Linked DNA regions of Homo sapiens: region 2 is linked to region 1. The links are contacts of gene promoters, found by promoter capture Hi-C in blood cells and fetal thymus (Javierre and others, 2016). All regions are on one chromosome and are shown on one strand. The core of a region is centred on a gene start or on the middle of the fragment in contact, and the rest is flanking DNA. Distances in the headings are between cores, read along the strand shown.

Region 1 (4,759 bases), core at 1,100-3,599:
GCAGGTGGATCACTTGAGGTCAGGAGTTCGAGACCAGCCTTGCCACATGGTGAAACCCTGTCTCTATGAAAAATACAAAAAATAGCTGGGCATCGTGGCAGGTGCCTGTAATCCCAGCTACGTGGGAGACTGAGGCAGGAGAATCTCTTGAACCCAGGAGGTGGAGGTTGCAGTGTGTTGAGATCGCCCCTGGACTCTAGCAGCAACAGAGACAGACTCCATCTCAAACAAAAAAAAAAGGAGGCTCACCCTTAGAAAGGCTTCTACAAATTAACACCACAAAGTGGACACAGGCACACAGATCTTGGTAAATGTGGGCTATCATTACTTAACGATGATTTCACCAGCCTCTTTCAGCCTCAGGATGAGCTCCATTCCCGTTTCCAGGTATTAGAGTCAAACCTACCCCCACCTCCCACCAGAGCCCCGGCTTAGAGAGACATTAAAGGTCCCAGAGCTCCAACTCAGAAACACAAAGGATATTCGAGAGAAGAAGAGGTCAAGGTTTTCAATATGGTGCCAAGGTGCTGTGGGATAGGAACAGAGATGTCAGAGCCCTGGGAGAACACAAGCCCCTTGCTCTCTCCATGTTCTTCCATCAACTCTCCCTATGGCTGTCATATCCAAGAACTCACACTTGCTCCCCTCGGCGACGTGCACCAACAGGTCCTCCTCCCCTGGGGGTGAATCACTATAGGAGGCCTCTAGGCGCTGGTATTCAGTGTCAAACTGCGCCATCACCACCGCCCCCTGTCCACCTTGACCACCTGCCAATAAGGAGGAAGAAGAGACCCTGATTCAGTTCCAGCTGCTGCCCATGGGCTGCCCTGCCTACTGCCAAAAGGAGAAAGTACCCTTGGGCTTTGTCCACTACCAGCCTCCTTGGCTCAGAGGCAGAGGAGTAGTGACACAAGAAAGGCAGTAAGCTCAGGGCTGGGGGAGCCTTAACTCTGGCCAGTCTGGGTGTCTACTGCTGCTTTCCTGGCCCAAAGCCAGAATCTGTCCCTTTGTTGGGGGCTGTTTCATCTTCTATTTAACGGACAGAAGAGTCCCTCCCCCGCCCATCCTGGGAACCCTGGTCTCCCAAGAGACTAACAGTTTGGAAGCACTTCACAAACAAATGTTTGAGAAAAGCACATGGCCCTACCAGCTCCATGGACAGTATGTGCTCCTCTCCAGCCCTCGATGCTCTGCAGCTGCTGGAGGAGAAGATGTCAGGCCCCAGAGAGTGGGCAGTGGGGATAAAAAGGAACCCAACCCTCCCAGCCATCCACACCCCACCAAGAGGAGGCCAAGCATGGGGCAGGAAGGCTGCAGTGGGGAAGAAGCACCCTTCCAGCCCAGGACTACGAGCACTTCCTCTGGCTGTGCTAAACCGGGCCACTCTTCCAACTCCAGGGTCTCAAGAAGTAACTTAGGGACCCCATGGAGAATGAGTGGGTACAGACCTGAGGCCAGGGGCGCCTCTGGACTATTTCTCCATTGCCCTACCTTAGCCTCAGAAATGACATACTTCTCAGGGTCCACAAAACCTCAAGAGTCTTTCCTGAAGAGGACCTTTCTGGTCAACCCCTTCTCTTACTTCCCTAGCACCAAAGATCCAGCCGGTGAGCAAACCTTCTGGATGGGAAACCTTGACTGGGTCAGTGTAGACCCCCGATCCTAGGTGAATTTGTGGGTTCCCTAGGTCCTGTAAGCCAGGCATGGTCGAGGTGGTACTCACCTGTCCGTGCAGCCCCTGGGGGCCGTGGATCTTGGCCCAGCCTGGCCCCGGTGGGATTCCCTGGGCTAGTGAGAGCCCTGCCCCTCAGGGAAGTCACCACTCACAGGGTCAGTGTGGACCAGGGCCCGTGGAGCCCCGGCCGGCTGGGCCTGGGCTCAGGGGTTCCTGCGGATGTTGCAGGGATCGAGTCAGCCTTACAGCTGATAGCCCGGGTGGGTTGGCTTGCCTCCCCACACCCAGCCGCGGCGACCGTGGACCGGAGTCCACCTCGCCCCAGGGTCGCCCGGCCCCAGGCCAAGGGCTGGCAGCTCCCAACAGCGGACAACCTCGCGCGCGGCCCCGGCGCCCGCGCGCGCCCCCGTCTGCGCGCGCCAGCAATCAAAACATTCCGGCTGCGCGCCCCCGCCCCGCCGGCGGCGCCCCTTCCTCCGTTACCCGCCGCGAGCTCACTTAGGGCTCCGCAGGCACCCCTGGGCAAGGCCAGACACGGGGCCTGGGATTCCAATAACCGGTCTCACGTCTTACCTCAGGAACAGCGACCCGGGTGATTCCAGAGGCTCCGCCGGCTCCGCTCGGCTCGGCTCGGCTCGGCGCGACCCGCGGCGCTAGGCCGGGTGTCTGCCACTCACTGTCACCCGCAGCCAGGCTGGCCAATAAGCACGGGGGGCGGAGACACAACGGCCAATTCTCGGCTTCAGGGACGGGACTAAAGTCTCGAGGCGGGTCTTGGACAGTCAGCGGCCCAATAGTGTGCTCTACGTGGGGCGGGGCTCAGGTGCGGACGCCGCCGGTTGTCCTCTTCGCTGCTCCGTAGTGACGGGGATTGTTGTGTTGCAGAAATCCGGCAATCGACCTGAGGACTTGCGAGCCGCTCAGCTCCCGGGACGTTTGGTGCGTCTTCTAAGGGCGTGGGCGAGTTTACGCGGGCCAGTTGTTGCTGGTCGCATGGGTAACGAAGAAAGTTCGGCTAGGCAAGCTCAGTGATTTTTAACTCTGTTGGACTCGATTTGGGAGCCGAATGCCTATTTCATTCTTTTGTGGGCTGAGACTGGGGGTTTGAGAAAGTGGACGGGGGCCAAGGTATTCATCTCACAGTTGGTAGCAGGATGAGAGACGAGAAGTCTTGCGGTGCAGGAGAAACCAAGTCAGGCAGGCAGGAGACGCAGCAGTAGGATCTCGTTTGCAGGAGCCCTGTTTCTTACACGCTTTCTACTCCAGGAGCTGCTGCTAAATAATTTCTGCTCAGCCATGTCGCCGGCTCCAGATGCAGCCCCGGCTCCTGCGTCGATCTCCCTGTTTGACCTCAGCGCGGATGCTCCGGTCTTTCAGGGCCTGAGCCTGGTGAGCCACGCGCCTGGGGAGGCTCTGGCCCGGGCTCCGCGTACTTCCTGTTCAGGTATCCTGGAAGGTTTCGTGTGAAACGTGACAGGGCTCCTTACAGCGTATTGCCCGTTCAGGGAACACATTCTTATTGGTATTCCCGAGCTTAGGAGGCCAATTGATTTATCTTTCTGCTTGATTAAATTCACTTAATCTCTGGGTAATGTCCAGCACAGCCCTTGTTTTCAAACAAGTCTTTTTGCCATTGCATGTATCTCCTCACGTTAACACCATTCCCTTCAAAAACACTTTAAACTTTGTAGAGATAAAATTCTCAGATGTATTCCACATTTAACCAGGCCCCACTCAAATTATTCCTTTTTGCTGAATATGAAACAATTTATTATTTGTTTCGTATAGCTTTATTTTTTGAGAGTCTCGCTCTGTCGCCCAGGCTAAAGTGCAGTGGCACGATCTCCACCCACTGCAATCTCCGTCTCCCGGGTTCAAGTGATTCTCCTGCCTCAGCCTCCCGAGTAGCTGGGACTACAGGCCCGCACCACCATGCCCGGCTAATTATTGTATTTTTAGTAGAGACGGGGTTTCACCATGTTGGCCAGGCTGGTCTCAAACTCCTGGCCTCAAGTGATCCGCCTGGGTCAGCCTCCCAAAGTGCTGAGATTACAGGCATGAGCCACCGTGTCGGTCCTGTTTTGTGTAACTTTAGTTTGGCTACATCTTTTCTTGCACCTCTCCTTAGACAAACTGTACACTAATTGGAAATGTAAACTTTAAAAAGCATTTGGGAAGTAGTTTTTGTGCAGTGAAAAATAATTTTAAACTGAACAGAAATTATTTTCTTTAGGATTCACCTAAACAATCTGTTTGGCTAATTTAAATTAGACAAGACTCAAACTCAGCCAGTGGGGAGGACTTGCAGACGCTGGATCTCGGGAGAGGGCTACGTTGGAGAAGTTTAACCGACCCCAAGGCTTTTACCCTCATCGGATTCTTTTCCAGAATGCCCAGGGCCAGTTTTTATTTACATTCGTTTTATTTATTTTATTTTTCTTCATCTTTTTTGAGACAGAGTCTCGTTCTGTTGCCCAGGCTGGAGTGCAGTGGTGTGATCTCGGCTCACTGCAAGCTCCGCCTCCCCGGTTCATGCCGTTCTCCTGCCTCAGCCTCCCAAGTAGCTGGGACTACAGGCATCCGCCACCACACCCGGTTAATTTTTTGTATTTTTAGTAGAGACGGGGTTTCACCGTGTTAGCCAGGATGGTCTTGATCTCCTGACTTCATGATCCGTCTGCCTTGGCCTCCCAAAGTGCTGGGATTACAAGCGTGAGCCGCTGCACCTGGCCAATTTTATTTTATTTACATTCATTTTACGTACATGTTTTCAGAAGCATGTTTATTGCATTAAGTGATTGCTGTACTGTTTATTTCATGACTATTAGAGTGTAAATTCCTTGAAGGCAGTATCATGCCATCTCTTTTGTATCCTCCTCTGCTTTGTATATCACACTCTGAATATAATTCTTGTCACTGTGGATTTGGGCTCCCTTTCTATGTCCAATTCCTCTTCCCTTATTTAGGCTCAGGGGAGAGAGAAAGCCCAGAAAGAAAGCTACTCCAGGGTCCTATGGATATTTCAGAGAAGTTATTTTGTTCAACTTGTGACCAGACCTTCCAGAACCACCAAGAACAGGTAAT
Region 2 (4,759 bases), core at 833-3,332, 130 kb after region 1:
CTTGAGAAGCAGTGTCCCTTACTTGTTAAAATAGTGTGCTGGGACCGGGTGCGGTGGCTCACGCCTGTAATTCCAGTACTTCGGGAGGCTGAGGTGGGAGTATAGATTGAACCCAGGAGTTTGAGACCAGCCTGGGCAACATAGTTAGACCCCGTCTCTAAAAAAAAATTTAAAAATTAGCCGGGTGTGGTGGCAGGCACCTGTGGTCCCAGCTACTTGGGAGGCTGAGGTGGGAGGCTCATGTGAGTCCGGGAGGTCAAGGCTGCAGTGAATCGTGATCCTGTACTCCAGCCTGGGTGACAGAGCAAGACCCTGTCTCTCTCTTCCTACCCCTCTCCGGGCAAAAAAGACAGTGTGCTGGAGCCAAATCCAAATACCTGCAGGCAGTTTTTTGCTTCCTCTGTGCCCCAGTTCCCTCACCTGTAAAATGAGTTTGACAGTAGCGTCTAGCTTACAGTGTTCTTAGAAGGATTAATAAGTTTAACACCTTTGAAGGATTTAGAAATATGATGGGACCAGCACATCATAAGCATACATCAGAAGCACTCAATTAACGTTGGCTATTACTGTTCTTTTTGATGCTCCCTCTCTGTCAGTGGCACCTCCTATGCATTGTTCAGGTTTCTCCCTGCAAAAATTTTCTCTTACAGTTTACATTTTTCCCAGACCCAATGCCATTGCCCTTGTTCAAACCACCATCATCTTTCTTTTATTTTTATTTTTGTAAATGTTTAATAGAGACAAGATCTTATGTTGCCTAGGCTGGTTTCAAACTTCCAGGGTCAAGTGAACCTCCTGCCTCAGTCTTACAAAGTGCTGGGATTACAGGCGTGAGCCACCATGCCCAGCTGGCCATCGTCTTTCACCTGTTACAGAAATTGAATCTCATCTAGTTGCCTGGAGTAACTAATGACTTGGGGTGTGTTCTAGGAGTCTGGGATTGTGTCTGGTGTACTGTAGGTGCTCAGTCGTTCTTGTTGAATATTTGTTGTTCCACTCTTGCCTCCCTGTAATCTCTTAAGCACCAGGAGAAGCTTTCCAAAATATAAATTAAAGCATGTTATTCCCTTGCTTAACACCATCCAATGGATCACCTCATTTACACTTTTGAATAAACGCTAAATTCCCGACCATGGCCTATGAGCCCCAACGTGATCTAGCCTTGCCTTCCTCTCCAGCCTCATTTCCTTCTCTCATCTTGCTCTCTCTGTTCCCAGCCTCCTTTCCATTCTTTGAACACCTGAGTCCTTCTCAAAGGCCATTTCTGCTTCTCCCCACCCTCCATTGTTATCTCTTTGTTCTAGTATAACCCTCCCCACCAAGTAGTTTCTGGTCCCTAGGAATAATTGTCACTTCATTACCTTCATGACTCTTACCACTGTCCATGACTTCTTCGTTTTTTGTTGTTGTTGTTGTTGTTGTTTGTTTGTTTTGTTTGTTTTGAGATGGAGTTTTTGCTCTGTTGCCCAGGTTGGAGCGCAATGACGATCTTGGCTCACTGCAACCTCTGCCTCTTGGGTTCAAGCAATTCTCTTGCCTCAGCCTCCCAAGTAGCTGGGATTGTAGGCGCCTGCCACCACACCCAGCTAATTTTTGTATTTTTATTAGAGATGAGGTTTCACCATGTTGGCCAGGCTGGTCTTGAACTCTTGACCTCAGGTGATCTACCTGCCTTGGCCTCCCAAAGTTCTAGGATTACAGATATGAGCCACCGCGGCCGATGGACTTCTTCCTTTGTTTACTTGTTTATTTGCGTCTCCCCACTGGAGTGTAAATTTCAAGAGGACAGAAGACATGTCTGTTTGATTTGCTATCACATCCTCAGTGTCTGGCTCAGGACCTAGCTCAGCCTGGATGCTCCAAAATGAAACAGATTTTGGGTCCTGAGGCCCCAGATGAAACACCTCTGCCTCAGTGCTCTTATCTGTTAGATGGGCAGCTCATCAGGGTGACTGTGAAAATGAAATGAGATGATGGATATAAAGCAGCCTCGTGTTGCACAAATGCATTGTGAGTTGAATTCTAGTTCCTTTCAGCTTCAGCCTCTCTGGGTTTGTAGATTTCGGCTATGCCCCAAGGTTTCAAGGTGAAAGACCTTGAAACCCAGAAGGGCAGAGAGGCCTGGTCTGGTAGAGAATCAGGAGCAGAATCCAGGAGACCTGCCTTACAGCTCACCAGGGGGAAGGTGTGAGACAGCCCACCTGACCCCAGGGAACAAAGGCTGCCCACCTTGATAGGGAGAGGGTGGGCCACCATGCCTGTGCCTCTTCTTGGATAGCCAGTGGGGATGGTGCTATCATTGCACTGAGGCCTGCAAGACTCAGGCCACCACCCTTTGTCGGGAAACAAGGTCTTCCCTCAAGGACAGGATCACCTCTGGTGGGAATCTCCTAGAGAAGAGGCAGCTCCTCAGGCCAGGCACGGTGGCTCACGCCTGTAATCCCAGCACTTTGGGAGGCCGAGGCGGGTAGATCACAAGGTCAGGAGTTCAAGACCAGCCTGGCCAACATGGTGAAACCCCGTCTCTACTAAAAGTACAAAAATTAGCTGGCCATGGTGGCATGTGCCTGTAGTCCCAGCTACTCTGGAGGCTGAGGCAGAAGAATTGCTTGAACCCGGGAGGCAGAGGTTGCAGTGAGCAGAGATTGTGCCACTGCATTCCAGCCTGGGTGACAGAGCAAAACTCCATCTCAAAAAAAAAAAAAAAAAGAGAGAGAAGAGGCAGCTCCTCCGAGATGGGTCAGAGCTCTATGGGGAGCCCCAGGTGGGCATCTAGATGGTGAAGAGCCCAAAGACTCTAGAAGTGGGTTCTCGGGACTTGCGCATGCGTACATGTGTTTATATGTGTATACATGTGTTTATATGTTTGTGCATGGGTGTTGTGTCCATGTGTTTATATGTGTGTGCATGTGTTTGTATGAATCAATGTGTACTGTATGCATGTGTGTTTGTGTGTGCGTATGTAGGTTTGTATGTGTGGGAGATGTATTTGTGTATGTAGATGGGATGTGTGTGTCAATGTGTATATGTGTACATGTAGTGTACTTGTATTCATTGTCTATTACTTTTTTTAAAAATCCAGTTTTAGCAAAGAATATCTATGGCTTATTGCTACATGACAAATTACCCCAAAGCTTAGTCGCTTAAACTATAAACATCTATTTCACAGTTTCTGTGGACTGGGAATCTGAGAGAGGCTTAGCTGGGTATTTTTGGTTCAGGGTCTCTCTTGAAGTTGCAGTGAAGATGTTACTCAGGGTTGGCTGTAGTCTTCTGAAGGCTTGCGTGGGGCTAGAGGATCCACTTTCAAGATGACTCACCCTCCTGGCAAGACGATGCTGGCTGTTGGCAGGAGGTCTCAGTTCCCTACCACATCAGCCTCTCCATATGGCTGCTTGAGTGCCTCATGACACAGCAGCTGGCTTCCTCTGGAGTGAGTGACCTGAGAGAGAGAGAGAACCAGGCAAAAGCCACAGTGTTTTTAAAACCTAGCTTTGGAAGTCCCATGCCATCATTTCTGCCATATTATACTGGCCACAGAGACCAACCCTGATACACTGTGGGAGGGACTACACAAAGGCATGAATTCCAAGAGGTAAGGATCACTGGAGGTCATCTTGTAGGATGGCTATCACATGCAGTATGTGCGTGTGGGTATGTGGGGTGTGTGTTTGTGGGTGTGTACATAAAGATGTGTGTGTTTGTGTATATATGTGTATGTTTTTGCATATGTATATATGGATATATAGCAATATGTTTGTGTGACATGTATCTATGTATTGTCTGCATATGTGTATGCATGCATTTATGTATATGTATCTGTGTATTGCACATGTGTGTTTTTTGCGCACGAGTATGCATGCATGTATTATGCCTACATGCATGTCTCTGTGTTTGTATGTTGTGCATGTGTGCATATATGTGTATGCCTTTTTGTATGTATTTGTAGTATGTGAATGAGCATATGTATGCATGTGTGATGGGTTTGTATATGTATCCAGGTGTATATGTGTGTCTATGCCTGTGGCTGTATATGTTTGCAAACATTGTATGTGCATGTGCACCTGTGTTGTGTGTGTGCATGTATGCTTACATGTGTGTGTTTCTGTATAGATGTCCATGTGTAAGTCCGCATGTGTCTGTTTATGTGTGTGTAGGTGTATATATGTTACGTTTATGTATGTGTGTGAGGTGTATGTGTGTAGGTTTGAGAATATGTGTGTGCATTACTATGTACATATTGCACTTGTATATATAAATGTGTGCTGGCACATGCATACAAACTTAGGAATGTCACCTGCTGTGGGAGGAAAGCCTGGAGTCAGGAGTGGGGAGACTCAGGGAGGAGTCCCTATTATTCCTGGGGTAGCCCATGAGTGGAAGGCTCTGGAGCCTGGAGAGCAGGCTCTCCCTTGCATTTAGGATATGTGGATCCATGGTCCTCTGCATCTGGCTTTCCTTTGTCAAGGCTTTCTGTTGTTGTTCATTTTTGTTTGAACATTTCAGTCTTTCCTAAGCTGTCAAATAAAGCAGCAGAGAAAGGGTGGTCTCTATTGCCTGGAAGTTGAGAGTTCAGTGTAGACTAGTGCCCCTTTGGGGCTGGCCTGGGGAAAACAAGGGGATTTCCCTGGAGAGCACGGCTGACCCTCCCTCTCATCTCTTCTCGCCTAGGGCCACTCTGGGAGCTTCTGGAGTTTATTGGGCAAGAAGGGAGGGCATTTCTTTACTTCTAATAATCCAGTCATCTTAGGAGCCACTC

Evidence for each region. Contacts are between HindIII fragments. The CHiCAGO score rates a contact against its expected background, and 5 or more counts as called.
Region 2: a fragment that was not itself captured here is called in contact with the fragment with the promoter of ATG9A in region 1 in 1 of 17 cell types (erythroblasts); the score reaches 5.1 in erythroblasts.

What each region holds. Positions count from the first base shown.
Region 1 is chr2:219,227,287-219,232,045 of GRCh38, forward strand. ATG9A (autophagy related 9A) reads right to left here and starts at 2,350. Exons shown (of 16, transcript NM_001077198.3): 1 at 2,249-2,350; 2 at 1,148-1,199; 3 at 636-767; 4 at 484-527. The coding sequence starts at 738. ANKZF1 (ankyrin repeat and zinc finger peptidyl tRNA hydrolase 1) reads left to right here and starts at 2,520. Exons shown (of 14, transcript NM_018089.3): 1 at 2,520-2,614; 2 at 2,942-3,119; 3 at 4,642-4,754. The coding sequence starts at 2,972. RefSeq lists enhancers at 1,290-1,838, 1,839-2,386, 2,387-2,934, 2,605-2,714 and silencers at 2,065-2,114, 2,325-2,454. The HindIII fragment of the contact is 5,267 bases long and covers 1-4,759 here.
Region 2 is chr2:219,359,367-219,364,125 of GRCh38, forward strand. LOC105373883 (a long non-coding RNA gene) reads right to left here. Exons shown (of 2, transcript XR_923917.3): 2 at 3,136-3,442. Among named protein-coding and RNA genes, the nearest start is that of DNPEP, 26 kb to the right of the region's middle. RefSeq lists an enhancer at 3,197-3,246. The HindIII fragment of the contact is 2,100 bases long and covers 1,033-3,132 here.